Linked DNA regions of Homo sapiens: regions 2, 3 and 4 are each linked to region 1. Evidence: promoter capture Hi-C in 16 types of primary human blood cells and fetal thymus (Javierre and others, 2016). All regions are on one chromosome and are shown on one strand. Each heading gives the region's core, a stretch centred on a gene start or on the middle of the fragment in contact. The rest is flanking DNA. Distances are from core to core; before and after follow the strand shown.

Region 1 (3,219 bases), core at 490-2,989:
TGTTTTTACCTTTCAGCTTTTGTGAATAATGCTGCTATAGAGGTTTGTGTACTTTTGTGTCCCCATGTTTTTATTTGTCTTGGATATATAACTAGGAATGAAATTGTGACTCATATGGTAACCCTACGTTCAAAGCCTATGCACCAGTTTACATTTCCATCAACATGAGAATTCCACTTTCTTTACATCCTTAGCACCACTTACCTTTTTCATTATAGTTCTGATATCTTTTTGAAGATATGGGATATAGTTACAATAACTGTTTTAATGTCCTTGCCTGTTGATTCTAACATTACTTCAGTTCTGATCAGCAATTGATTTTTCTCCTCATTATGTGTTTTTTTTTTTCTTTTTGCAAGCTTGGTAATTTTTCTTTGTATGACATATGTAAATTGCACCTTTGGTGAACATTTTTCTATTTCTATAAATACTGCTGAAGTTTGGTCTTGTCATCTGTCATGGTTTGTTAAGTTTGATCCATTTGGGTCTTACTTTTAAGAGTTAGATGGCACTACAGCACTGATCAGCTAGGACTAATTACTGCCTACTAAATAATTAGTAAACAACTATCAAATCAAGACTTTTTTGTGTGTACTCTGTCCAGTGTCCTACGGACTATGAAGTTTTCCAGCCTGGTTAGTGGAAATAGAGACTATTTCTGACCCTCTGTAATGTCCATATATATATATTTATATATATATATATATGTATTTTTTTTTTTTTGTGAGACGGAGTCTCGCACTGTCACCAGGGCTGTAGTGCTGTGGCGCAATTTCGGCTAACTGCAACCTCAGCCTCCCTGGTTCAAGCAATTCTCCTGCCTCAGCCTCCCGAATAGCTGGGATTACAAGCGCCCACCACCACGCCCAACTAATTTTTTTTGTACTTTTAGTAGAGACGGGGGTTTCACCATGTTGGCCAGGCTGGTCTCAAACTCCTGACCTCGTAATTCACCTGCCTCAGACTCACAAAGTGCTGGGATTACAGACGTGAGCCACCGCGACCGGCCATGTCCTGGTATCTTTAAAAATCTTTTAGCTAGTTTCTTGAGACACATACTGCTCAGTACTCAGCTGAATGAATACCAAGTTCTCTCTCAGCAGTTATCTTTCTCCTGTACTCTGCAAAGAACATTACCTACCTTGGTCTCCCCAGAATATCTGTTCTATTTTGCCAACGCAGGCAATCGGCTGGGCTCTGCTTGAGTTCACTCTCCTGCATCGCATCTATAAAATACTAATATCTTTGAAAGCAGCTCGCTTTTTGAGCGCAGATCATTTGCTTCCTGTATCTCCCGGATCACTATTCTTTACTGATTCCCAGCGTCTTAGAAACAGCCCCACTGTTTTTCGGGGTTTTGTTTTTTTTTTTCTACAGCAGTAGTGAATATTTTAAATAAAGTGTCAATGCTGTAAGTTTCCCTTAAAACGCAAACTCAAGGAAATGCTTTCCCTTTTTCGAGTAGAGAAAGAACTTCCACAGGCGCGCGGTCGAGCTCAAGCCCACTTATAGTCTCTGGCACCGCGTAAGGACTAGCGCGCAGGCGCAGAGCCCGTGCGCGCCTAGCCATAACCGCGCTTGCGCCAAGCAGCGAGGCCCGCCAACGAGCGAATCCGCGCCTGCCAATTAGAGCGCACAATGGTCCTTGATGCCCGCCCACTAACCTCTGCAGCCAATCGCCTGCCCCGGCGCGAAGTCGACTGTGACTTCAAAGTAATCTTAGGGATTGTGGGAAGGCAGCTGAACTCGGCGCCTGGAAAGATGGAGGCAGCGGAGACAGAGGCGGAAGCTGCAGCCCTAGAGTAAGTGTTTGCGGCTAAGTGGCAGCTGGGGCCGGGCCTGGGAGGACCTTGTGGGCCCCTATGTGTAATGATTGGTGCCCTCGACCCTGTACAGCTGTTGAGGTTCGACCCTGCCGTGAAGTGATCCTCACCGCAGTCCCGTCTTAGGTTCCTGAGGTGTCTGTTGCCTGCTCCAGGAGTACAGCCTTTGGGGGACCGTTCGCCGCTCCCCACATCCACATAATCCACAGGATGTGCTCTAGGAGACGGTTTCACTTCTGTCTTCTTGTCCCAACACGACACATTCCCAGTCACTTCTCATCCCCATCCCTGCCCCTTCGTAGATTGCTCCAGTCCCTAATAATGAAAAACCCTAGAGTAGACCGAGGCATCCAGCCCTCTGCCCTGAGTCCTTTCTCAGCTATTCCAAGACTCTGCCCCAAGGCTGGTGCTCAGCGCCAGGAGGGATCCCAAGGCCCAGCATTCTTCCCCTTCCTTGCATATCTCCCTGGCTTCCTTCACATCTTGACTCAAATGATTTCTCTTCAGTGAGACACTCCCTATTTAAAATTTCAGCTCTTTTCTCAAACTCCTTATCCACTAGCCCTGCTGATTTTCCTTTTGGCACGTATTACCACCGTGTGCCCTCCATGCACGCCATTCCTGGTTGCAGGCTGTGGACCCTTCAGGCCCTTGTGTAAACTCTGGTCAAGGCAAGACTCTCAATACTATATATACTGATATACACATCCACATTTGTTTGTGTACACACACGAACTGTAGAACTAGCACCACAAGAAACTGCAATTTCCTGTGTTTCCTTGCCCCTCCAGGGTCCTGGCTGAGGTGGCAGGCATCTTGGAACCTGTAGGCCTGCAGGAGGAGGCAGAACTGCCAGCCAAGATCCTGGTTGAGTTTGTGGTGGTATGTACAAGATGAGAGCGAGCCTTTCAGAAGCCAGGGTCTGGTCCTGGCTCCTCTTACTGAGATACAGGGCAGCACTGGCAGAGAGCAGACTTAAGGAAACCTGTAAGGAGGTAAGGATGTTCCCTGTCTCTGCCCTCCCTCTGAGCAGGACTCTCAGAAGAAAGACAAGCTGCTCTGCAGCCAGCTTCAGGTAGCGGATTTCCTGCAGAACATCCTGGCTCAGGAGGACACTGCTAAGGGTCTCGACCCCTTGGCTTCTGAAGACACGAGCCGTGAGTAGGCAGGGGATTGTAGTAGCAGCTGACCTGAGTGGGGAAGGAAGGAGGATTTCAGTTAGGTCTCCCATTTGGCTGATGGGAAGGAGGCCCAGTGTTGCAGGGAGGCAGGCTAGCAGGCCACCCTCACTCATGTACTCATTCCTGGTGGCTCATCTCAGGACAGAAGGCAATTGCAGCTAAGGAACAATGGAAAGAGCTGAAGGCCACCTACAGGGAGCACGTAGAGGCCATCA
Region 2 (3,219 bases), core at 286-2,785, 470 kb before region 1:
GAGACCCTGTCTCTACTAAAAATACAAAAATTAGCCAAGCGTGGTGTCAGGCAGCTGTAATCCCAGCTACTCAGGAGGCTGAGGTAGGAGAATTGCCTGAACCTGGGAGATGGAGGTTGCATTGAGCCAAGATTGTACCACTGCACTCCAGCCTGGGTGACAGAGTGAGACGCCTCAAAAAAAAAAAAAAAAAAAAAAAAAGGAAGAAACAAATTGTTGAGTATCAGATTGTGAAAAGTAAATTTTGACTTACATGAGAATGCTGCACTTATATCCAAACAAAAGTGCTTGCAAAATTAAAATTTTGTGTGAATGAGGCTGCTTATCATATTTTCTAGGAAAGCTGAACTTCTCTGATATTTCACTTTTTTGAAAGAGAAGAGTGTCATCAATTTTTATAATGTGGTAGGTTGATCTCTGCAGGTTTACCTTGATCCTTTGTCAACGTCCAAGTAAAAAGACAACCATCTCTATATAAATTTCCTAATTAACACAACAGCAGATGAGCTTTCTGTCCACTGGATTTCTATAACAATTATTTTGTTAATATTTCAGGTCATATTTTAATTATTGTCTCAGATTATGTTTCTTCATACAAACTACTTGGAAGAAAAGACTCTTGTAAATGGTTTAGTATCCTCACTCTACCCAGCATATCAGCAAGCGTTTTTCATACAGTATAAAAGCATATATATTAATTGCAGTTATACCAATAGTAATTATCAGGGGATGGCCTGTGTGGATAGGATTATGTTATAGCAATGAACTAATATGATTATATCAGACCTCCAGAGCAATTGCATCAATGCCTGTATTTTCTCACATTTTTGGAAGTGATCTCCTGCTCTAGCATCATCATAGGTAACAGCAAAAGTAATATTTATTGAGTTCTTGCTATATATCAAATACTGTATAAAACATTTACATGTATTATCTCTTGTAATCTTCCTAGCAATCCTATTAGGTAAAAAAACAAAAAAAAAAAAAAGAAAAAACTATTATCGTGATCCTTTCTCAGCCTTATAGTTGAAGAAATTGAGGCTTAAAAAGATTAAATAACTTGTTAAGGGCTTATAGCTTCTAAGTGTTGAAGCCAGAATTGGAATTTATGCATTTTGTATTTGCAGTCCAGATGCATAGCTGCTTCTCAATGATACAAATTCACTACTTCTTCATCCTCTTGAAGACCCTCTTGCAACTCCAGCATCGAAGAGATATAATAACTAATTGTAAGCCCAACTCTAATAAACATTAAGAATAAATAGTATTGCCCAAACTATTTGACCTGTCTTTAAATATAAAAGCCAAAGCTTTATTATGTTTAATCAATTATTTATTCTTTATCCCTACTTTGTAACAAGCATTAGTTACATGGTATGTCAGAAAATAAATACTATACAGAAAAATAAAGAAGGATGAAGGAAAGAAAAGTGGGAAGTAAATGTGATGCAATTTTGAATAAGTTGATCAAGGATGTATCTCATATTTAAGCAAAGACCTAAAAAAAGAGATGTTGAAATCTGTATTCTTATTCATGTGATTCATTGAACCTTTAGTTATTAAATATTTAATATATGCATATTGCTGTATTAAGCTCTGGAAATACCATGATTAACAAACACCAATATTATCAGAGATCATATAAGTTATCAAAATCCATTTAATAGTTATAAATAATTGTCAAATTAAAACTCTGACAAGTTTTTTGAAGGGAAAGCACGATGACTATGATGATTTGTGACAGATCTTGATTAAGCTTTTGGCAAAGTGGGAAGAGGGAAAGCAGGAACAGGTGTTCTATAGTTTGAGGAAAGCTACTCTGAGGAAAAGGTGTCTGAGTGGAGATCTGAAGATGAGCAGAACAAAATTAAGCAAAGAGGAGTGTAGGAGGCATGCATAGCACACAAAGGTCAAGAATATCCTGGTGAAGGAACAAACTGTTGGGCAAAAAGCCTGCTCAAGGGGCAGTATGACTTAGTTGAAAGACCACATGGTTGTTATAAAAGTCCATGTGGCTGAAACCAGAGGCTGGGGTAGAGTGGGTATTATAACTTACAAGAGGCGGGTAATCACCGAGGTAGGCAGGGCTACTAACTTATTACCACCTTATTATGTGATACATTTCCACTTCCAAAAGTATTTTCTCATCGTATTCTCACATTTTTCATAGGTGCAGAGAGAAAGAAATGCCATAATAAAACAATTTATTAGGAGTTCAAGTTATTGCCCAAATCTTACAACAAATATGACAGGATTGAATTCCAGACTCAGGCATTTTATCTTAGGTCAAGCTAAAGATTGTTTTGATTGAATATCTTGTAGTTTTTTTCTCTTGATCATGGGCAATCATAGTTTATTGTTAATCTAAAACTAAACAACAGATATATAAAGTAGCTTGGTTTTTAGTTTGAACTGATAAATAAGATATTTTTATCCTGGTCTTTTTGACTAGCCCTTCTAACTTCATGATAAGTATTAAGGAGTAGAACCTGTAGCACATATTCATATGTTCAATAAAATTCCTTTGAATATCAATTTTTAAAAATTTATTTCAACTTATTTTGTTGATTTTGCAACAGTTTATATTGTTTTATATGTTCTAAGAACCCAAGAAACATAATTCTTTATGGCCTGTAATTCTGAATCTGTCCCTGTATAATGACTTATGTACATGTGGCATTGACATTGTCCCAAATTACATTAAAAAATTGTTAATTTATGAAATTTCTTTAAGAAGTCACAAAAGCATCTTGAGATATTTTATAAAAGGATATACAGGCATATCTAATTGTTTTGCATGTTATTGTGCTTTGCAATATTGTGTTTATACAAATTGAAGGTTTGCATCAACCTTGTATCAAGACATTCTATTATTGTAATTTTCCTAAGAGTATATGCTCATTTTATGTTTCTCTATCACATTTTGGTAATTCAAGGAATAGTTTTGAGTTTTGTGTCTTATTACTTAAGAAATTCATTTTGTAAGACTATAGCTGCCATAGATAATGATTCCTCTGATGAATTTGGACAAAGTTAATTTGAAACCTTCTGGAAAGGATTCATCATTCTAAATGCCACTAAGAACATGCATAATTCGTGGGAAGAGATCAAAATATAAACACTAGTAGAAGTTAAAAAGAAGTTAATTCCAATCCTCCTGAATGAGTTTGGAAGATCGAGATTTCAGTGGAGAAATTTACTGCCAATATGGTGGAAATA
Region 3 (3,219 bases), core at 260-2,759, 430 kb before region 1:
CTTTTTTATTTCATTGTTGCTTTTCTTTTTATTGATCTTTCATTTTGTTCATTCATCATTTTATTGACTTTCTTCACATCATTTTTTTAGCTCTTTGAGCATCTTTAAGATAACTGTTTTAAAGTCTTTGTCTATATTTGCCATCTGGCCTTTCTCAGGGACAGTTATGTTAGCTTACTTTTTTCCTTTAAAAGGACCATATTTCCCTATCTCTTTTTATTCATTGTGATTTTGTTGTTATTGAAAACTTGACATGTGAATGTAATAATGTGGCAGCTATGGAAGTCACATTCTTCTTTTTTATCAGGGTTTGCTGTTTTACGCTTTTGTTTTGATTTAATTTTTGTAGGCTGTCTTCATGCTGAGGGTCAGGCTGAGTTGTGAACTTAGTTCTTATTTTTTTTTCTGAGCCTGCATCTTTCCCTGGTCACACACAGTGAGTTTCTAATTTCTCCAATGCATGTTGTTGCTTTTGAATATTGTGGTATTTAATGTAGAGCTTCACAAAAGGAGAAAAAGAGAAAAATAAAGCGGGGAAGGGTACTAGCCATTTAAATGCCCTGAAATCCACTTCCATTGGATGGGTAGTGGCTTGCAATAATGTGGGTATGCAACAGTGTCTACTCTCTTTTGTTTCTGTACTTCCATGATTATAAATGCCATCATTTATCAGACTACAGATCCAGATATTGGAGGACAGGGTGTTTATTACCCACCCTGGTTTCTGCAATCTTCATGCAAGCTGCATCAGGAATATGTGCCTGCCTTTGGACTGGGGTAAGGAATGGGTAGCTGCTGCTGAGCTGAAAGCTGAAATTGACTGAAAGTACTGCAATTTACCAACCAAGCCTTCCTCTCAAAGTGGCAAGCTTCCAACTGACTAAAAAGTTTATCGAAATAGTCACATCGAATTCTTCCAGTACGACTGTTGTTTTAGAGGGGAGATGGATTCCAAGTGCTCTCTACTCTGTCATCTTCCCAGACTCCACATTTTTTTAACTCAGCTTTTAAGCATATTAAATGGAGATAATGACATATACTTTGTCTTCACAGGATTAATATAAGGATGAAATGAAGTAATGTGTATAGAACATACAAGATATATAATGAAGAGTGATATATCCATATGATATTACTGGTAGTATGTTCAGTGTAGTAGATAGGATCATTTACATGTATTCACTACCCTATTGACATTAGGCTTGACTATGTTCCTTGCTTGAACCAATAAATTATGAATGAAAGAGGCAAGAGGCTGTCAATCTTGTTAGAAACTTTAAGAGCCCATATGTGTTTCTATGTTCTGTTTCTTTATGCCATCATGACCATTAATGCTTAAAAGCTGGGCTGAATGCTTCGGTCTCATAGTGAAGTAGAGTCATGGCCAATCTGTTACAGACTTGTCACATGTGCCAGAAACCAGCCTTTGTTACCGTAAGTCAAGAAGATTTGGGAGCTTATGTTATCACAAAATGGCCTAGTCTATCCTAACTGACACATGTTCTCTTTGCTTTGACTATTTCTTATGCTGTCTGACACAGAGTTTTTGTCATTCTACCTCTGCCACACAAGAGGTTTTTTTTTTTTTATCTTAACTGGATTCCAAAGGTTTCAATTACAATGTGGAGTTAAGAATACCTTATTTGGCTTACTTAAGAGCATGTTGGCTGATGAGCACATTGAATCCATGAAATATCCCCAGTTAGAATGAACCTGATTCTTTGTAAATAAGAAATTCTGGATATTTCCTTGTAGCTGAATAGGAGACAAAATAAGTAAATCCAATTTATGAACATTCAGACTAGTATAGGAAATCTGTCAATGTGTGATAGAATTCAACAGAATTAGGCTTTGAAATTAAATCTTTCTTTTTAATAAACTAAAGAATGTTGGAAGCTAAAATTGAGTTTTTAGGTGATAAGAATAATTACTCTTTGCAGACAGAAAAATGAGTTTGTTGAAACAAGTATATTCTTTAGAAAAATTTGGTAGAAGAGATGTTAATAATAAAAGAAAAATACTGATGAATAACATTAATTGAGCATTTAGAATATGTCTAGATTTGCCTTTCATTATATAATTGAATTGTCTCTGCAAACATTGAGTTAAATAGTTTTAAAATTTAATTTTATAAATTAATCCAAGCTTAGAAAAGTTATGGAAGTTGCCTTAGTTTCCATAGCTAGCAAATAGAAGATTGAGAATATGTGCGCATGGCTATCTAACTTCAAAGGCAAGCTCTCCTTTATTTACTTGTTATATTTACTGTCTCTCTAATGTAGAACAGTAAATTAGTCTGAATATTAGTACATTTTATAGGGAGGATCTGAGAGGCTGGATTAGTTTATGAAAGCTTGCCTTGAGAAAAGCTTATTAGAGTTAATCTAAACCTTGCATTTTTTTTAAAGGTCTTTGTCTGCTGCATACATGTTTAAAAAGTTACTTCATCTAGTGGGACAAAAAGGAAGTCCATCATTAAATGCTGTATTTCATGTGACGTCTTACATAATTCACATGTATTATATAATAACATCACTTTAGAAAAAAGATATAGCTATAAAATATAGATATATAGATAAAACCTGCCCTAATAACTTATTCCTCCCTGCCAAATACACTCTTTGCATAGATGAAAGAATGTCATATAATCCCTTTTCAATTTTGCTACATTCCATTTCAAAATATTTTGGTATCTAAAGTATGTTATCCCAAGTCACTCAAATGAAAATATTAGCTTACACTTTAATTTCTGTATGTTTTGTTCTCTGCTCTAACTTTGATACTTTGAATACTGTCTCACATATAGTAGTGTCTGGCATAAATATTTGTTGAGTGAATGAATACATGAATGAGCTATGACAGTCAATTCAGCTTGCAGTGCTACCTCAAACACATGATTCATAGCCCATTTACATATGCTGACAGCATCCTTAGCCTTATCATAGTTAGGTCAATTTGCTTTGTTTATCCAAGGAAATGGGTCCATGCTAACTAATGAAAATTGGATATACATAGGTCTTTAGGATTTTGTTTTAATTTGGAGGGTGACCATATATACTCACAATTTAAGTGGAATGTTTAAAAATGTAAATAAGTGATAACACTTGTATCAATAAGAAAAATAAAAGGGGGTCCGGGGGGGGTAAAATATATAAATGAGATTACTAGAAAGCAAAAAGTCTATGAATGCATGTTGATAGATGAAAGAGAACTGAAAGC
Region 4 (3,219 bases), core at 254-2,753, 290 kb before region 1:
TTTTTTTTTGTAGAACAGGTATCACCATACCTGTTCTACAACTTCATATTTTGTATGCTTAGGAAAATCTTTCTCTCTCTCACACACATCTTATGGATGGTTTTTTAGGTACAGTATTTTTGGTTGACAGTCTTTTTCCTTCAGCACTTTAAATATATTATTCAACTATCTCCTGCCCTGGAAGGTTTCTTCTTAGAAGTTATTTGCTTAGCTTTGGAACTCCTTTATATGTTATTTGCTGTTTTGTTTTTGTTATTGTTGTTACATTTAGGACCTTCTTTTTTCCTTTAATCTTTGATAGTGTTAATGTCTTGAGTTAATCTTATTAGAATTGAATATGATTGGAGATTTTGACCTTCCTGCACATGGATATTTATATCTTTCTCTAGGCTTGGAAAGTTTTATTCTATTATTTCATTAAATAAACTTCTTATCATTTTATCTTCATCTATTCTGTTTTGAAGGTCAATGACTGGTAATTTGCCCTTTTGATGCTGTCTTATCAATCACATAAGCTTTCTTTATGACTTTTCATTATGTTTTTCCTCTAACTTTATATTTTCAAATAACCTGTCTTTGAGTTCACAGATCCTTTATTATCTTTGATCAGTTATGCTGTTGATGCTCTCTATGGTGTTTTTTTCTTTGTTCATTGTGTTTTTATTTCCAGAATTTCTATTTGATTTTTAAAATTGTTTAAATCTTTCTGTTAAATTTATCTGATACATTTTAAAATTGTTTTTCTGAATTTTTTGGAAGTTCACTGAGATTTAACACACCTATTTTGAATTTTTGTCAGGCAGTTTAGACATCTCCATCTTTTTAAGGTTAGTCACTAGCACTTTATTTTGTCCATTTGGTGAAATGTTTTCCTGATTTTTCTTGATCCTTATGGTCATGTGTCAATGTGTATACATTGAAAAATTAGGTACTTGCTTTAACCTTTGTAGTTTGACTTTGTCTGGGACTGTTCTTCAACAGTAAATCTGTCCAGAAATTCTGTGCAAACTAACTGGTATGGTCTCTAAATCCATGGCCACTGAAGCTCTTGTAGCACTAGAAAGCACCCTAAGCCTAGAATTGCTTCAACTTGTGTAGCCTGCGCTAGAGTCATGTGGCCACAAAGGTTGGTGCAGCCTTGGACTGAAATTCAATGGCCACTTGGAGCTTATGCAGTTCTGGAACACACCCAAAGCCCCTGGATTTTAAAGTTAGCTTGCTGTTGACGTTTATTCAGAATTTAAGGCCATTGCAGTCAGGCATTGGTGATGTGGGCCAAAAAGCAATCTTTCTTACACAGGTTATTGGCACCCATTTGGTACTGGGGTGGGTCTAATGACTCAGTCCTTAGGTACTATCCTGGATGTAGAGACCGTGGAGGCTTCCCAGTGCTGAATTTTCCTGTGGCAAGCCCAGTGTTGGGGCCCAAGGCAAGTTCCTACACATACTTTCCTCTTTTTTTTCCCACACAGAAAGTATCTCTTTTCATGCTGTGCTGGCCAGAGGTGAGAGAGGGATAACATGACTAATGTGAAACTATCCTTTTTACTCCATTTCATGTGTCTATTTATATTTTTAGGCTATAACCAGGTGCTGTGACCTAGAGTAGAAAGAAGGAAGTTCCCCTCCTCTTCAAAAAGCTCCCAGCATATTGCTTTTATGCTCTCATATATGAAAAGCCAATTTAAAAAAATCAGAAACAAGGCTACTCACTTTCTCCCATCAAGACACTTTCTACCTTCTTTTTCTTTCTGCATTTCTATCATGTTCAAATCTTCTGTACCTGACAAATAAAGTTTTTCTTTATTCTAGACCTTTTCTTATTTACTTCCAACATAAGAATTGACAAGTTTTATTCTTTACTATTGTAGGTGTGTTCAAGATGACTCATTATGACAAAGGTATTCTTGCTGATGTGAGGTTATTGGAATGGATGTGTTCAGGATTGGTGATGTTACTTACATTGACCCCATATACATTTATAACTTAGAAGGCATCTTCAGTGTTTTATCTCAAATAATAAACTAAGGAAATGGTGCTCAAACTTTAGTATGCATCAGAATGATCTGAAGAATATACTGATTTCTGGGCTGTAACCCTAGAAGTTCTGATTCAGTTAGTCTGGGGTGGACCCCAGGTTTTTGCATCTTCCCAGTGATGCTGATGGTGCTGGTTGTCAACCACAGGGAGCATCACTGATAAGGATTATCACATTCTCAGTTTGATGACATAAGTATAAATATATGTGGGCAGCATTTTTATACTTTTTAAGTAATGGCTGTTGACTTCAACTTGCATCATCACAGTTTAGAGGAGAGAAAAATTAATACATGTTACAGACTATTTTCCTGTTGAGAGCACAGGTTACTGAAAAACCAGAATTCACTCAGTAATCACCTTAAGCTGAAACTCTAAGGTTAGAATGTGTTTTAATGGCTTAAAATATATAGCACCTCCATAAAATTTCAGATTATTTTCTTGGGAAGCTTTTGGAAATTTTGAAGCACACAGACATTTAACAATTGCAGAAAAATCTAATGTTTCAATAGAAGCCCATTTTAGAAATGCTTGACAATGTATAAGCATATATGTTTTAAATGTGTTTGTCCCAGAGTCCACCAGCTTCTTGACATAGATTTGAGTCATAAAGATGTATTATTTCTGTGATAATGTGTTCCACATTTAAGTACACTAGTCTTAATTATAATTAGTAGATTTTACTGTTTTCTAACAACAAAGAAGCTAAAGAACATCTAGGTATCAAAATACCCTCCCAATCATGGGAGCAGAGCTGCAGCCATTTGGTAATTACATGGCTACCTTAAGGAAAATAAAGTGCTTGGATACAACCCATCTTAAAATGCAGAGTGTGCCTCTTGGTAGCAGGACACATTGAACAACACTTCGGAGAACAGAGTTTTACGTTAATTGGATGTGGAGGCCTGCAAGATAAAGCAAATATAAATCATACTCTAATTGATACACAGTTTGGAAAATGTTACCAAAAAACTTTTGGTATCCATTTTGAGGTAAATACTAAAACAGCCTCACATTTAAGGTCCTAGAAGTAATGGACCACAACAACCTTTACCCTTGCTGTGTCTAGGTTTTGGGCCTGGCTTGTCCTGGTTTCCAGGATGGACTTTGCTTCTTACTCAGTGTATAATTTGAAGCAAGCTACTCAACTTTCCAATGCTTTAGTTCTCTCATCTAAAAAAT

What was found. The method cuts DNA at HindIII sites, captures the fragments that hold promoters and counts their contacts. A CHiCAGO score of 5 or more calls a contact.
Region 2: a fragment that was not itself captured here is called in contact with the fragment with the promoter of ZWINT in region 1 in 1 of 17 cell types (total B cells); the score reaches 5.6 in total B cells.
Region 3: a fragment that was not itself captured here is called in contact with the fragment with the promoter of ZWINT in region 1 in 1 of 17 cell types (total B cells); the score reaches 5.1 in total B cells.
Region 4: a fragment that was not itself captured here is called in contact with the fragment with the promoter of ZWINT in region 1 in 1 of 17 cell types (total B cells); the score reaches 5.1 in total B cells.

Annotation. Positions count from the first base shown.
Region 1 is chr10:56,359,779-56,362,997 of GRCh38, reverse strand. ZWINT (ZW10 interacting kinetochore protein) reads left to right here and starts at 1,739. Exons shown (of 9, transcript NM_007057.4): 1 at 1,739-1,802; 2 at 2,615-2,705; 3 at 2,857-2,980; 4 at 3,145-3,219. The coding sequence starts at 1,762. It overlaps LOC124902546 (a long non-coding RNA gene), which reads right to left and starts at 1,539. Exons shown (of 2, transcript XR_007062372.1): 1 at 1,142-1,539. RefSeq lists a silencer at 1,472-1,681 and enhancers at 1,772-1,941, 1,290-2,029, 2,769-3,219, 2,655-3,219. The HindIII fragment of the contact is 11,189 bases long and covers 362-3,219 here.
Region 2 is chr10:56,830,665-56,833,883 of GRCh38, reverse strand. No RefSeq gene overlaps it. Among named protein-coding and RNA genes, the nearest start is that of ZWINT, 470 kb to the right of the region's middle. The HindIII fragment of the contact is 446 bases long and covers 1,313-1,758 here.
Region 3 is chr10:56,789,904-56,793,122 of GRCh38, reverse strand. No RefSeq gene overlaps it. Among named protein-coding and RNA genes, the nearest start is that of ZWINT, 430 kb to the right of the region's middle. The HindIII fragment of the contact is 1,276 bases long and covers 872-2,147 here.
Region 4 is chr10:56,651,832-56,655,050 of GRCh38, reverse strand. No RefSeq gene overlaps it. Among named protein-coding and RNA genes, the nearest start is that of ZWINT, 290 kb to the right of the region's middle. The HindIII fragment of the contact is 1,971 bases long and covers 518-2,488 here.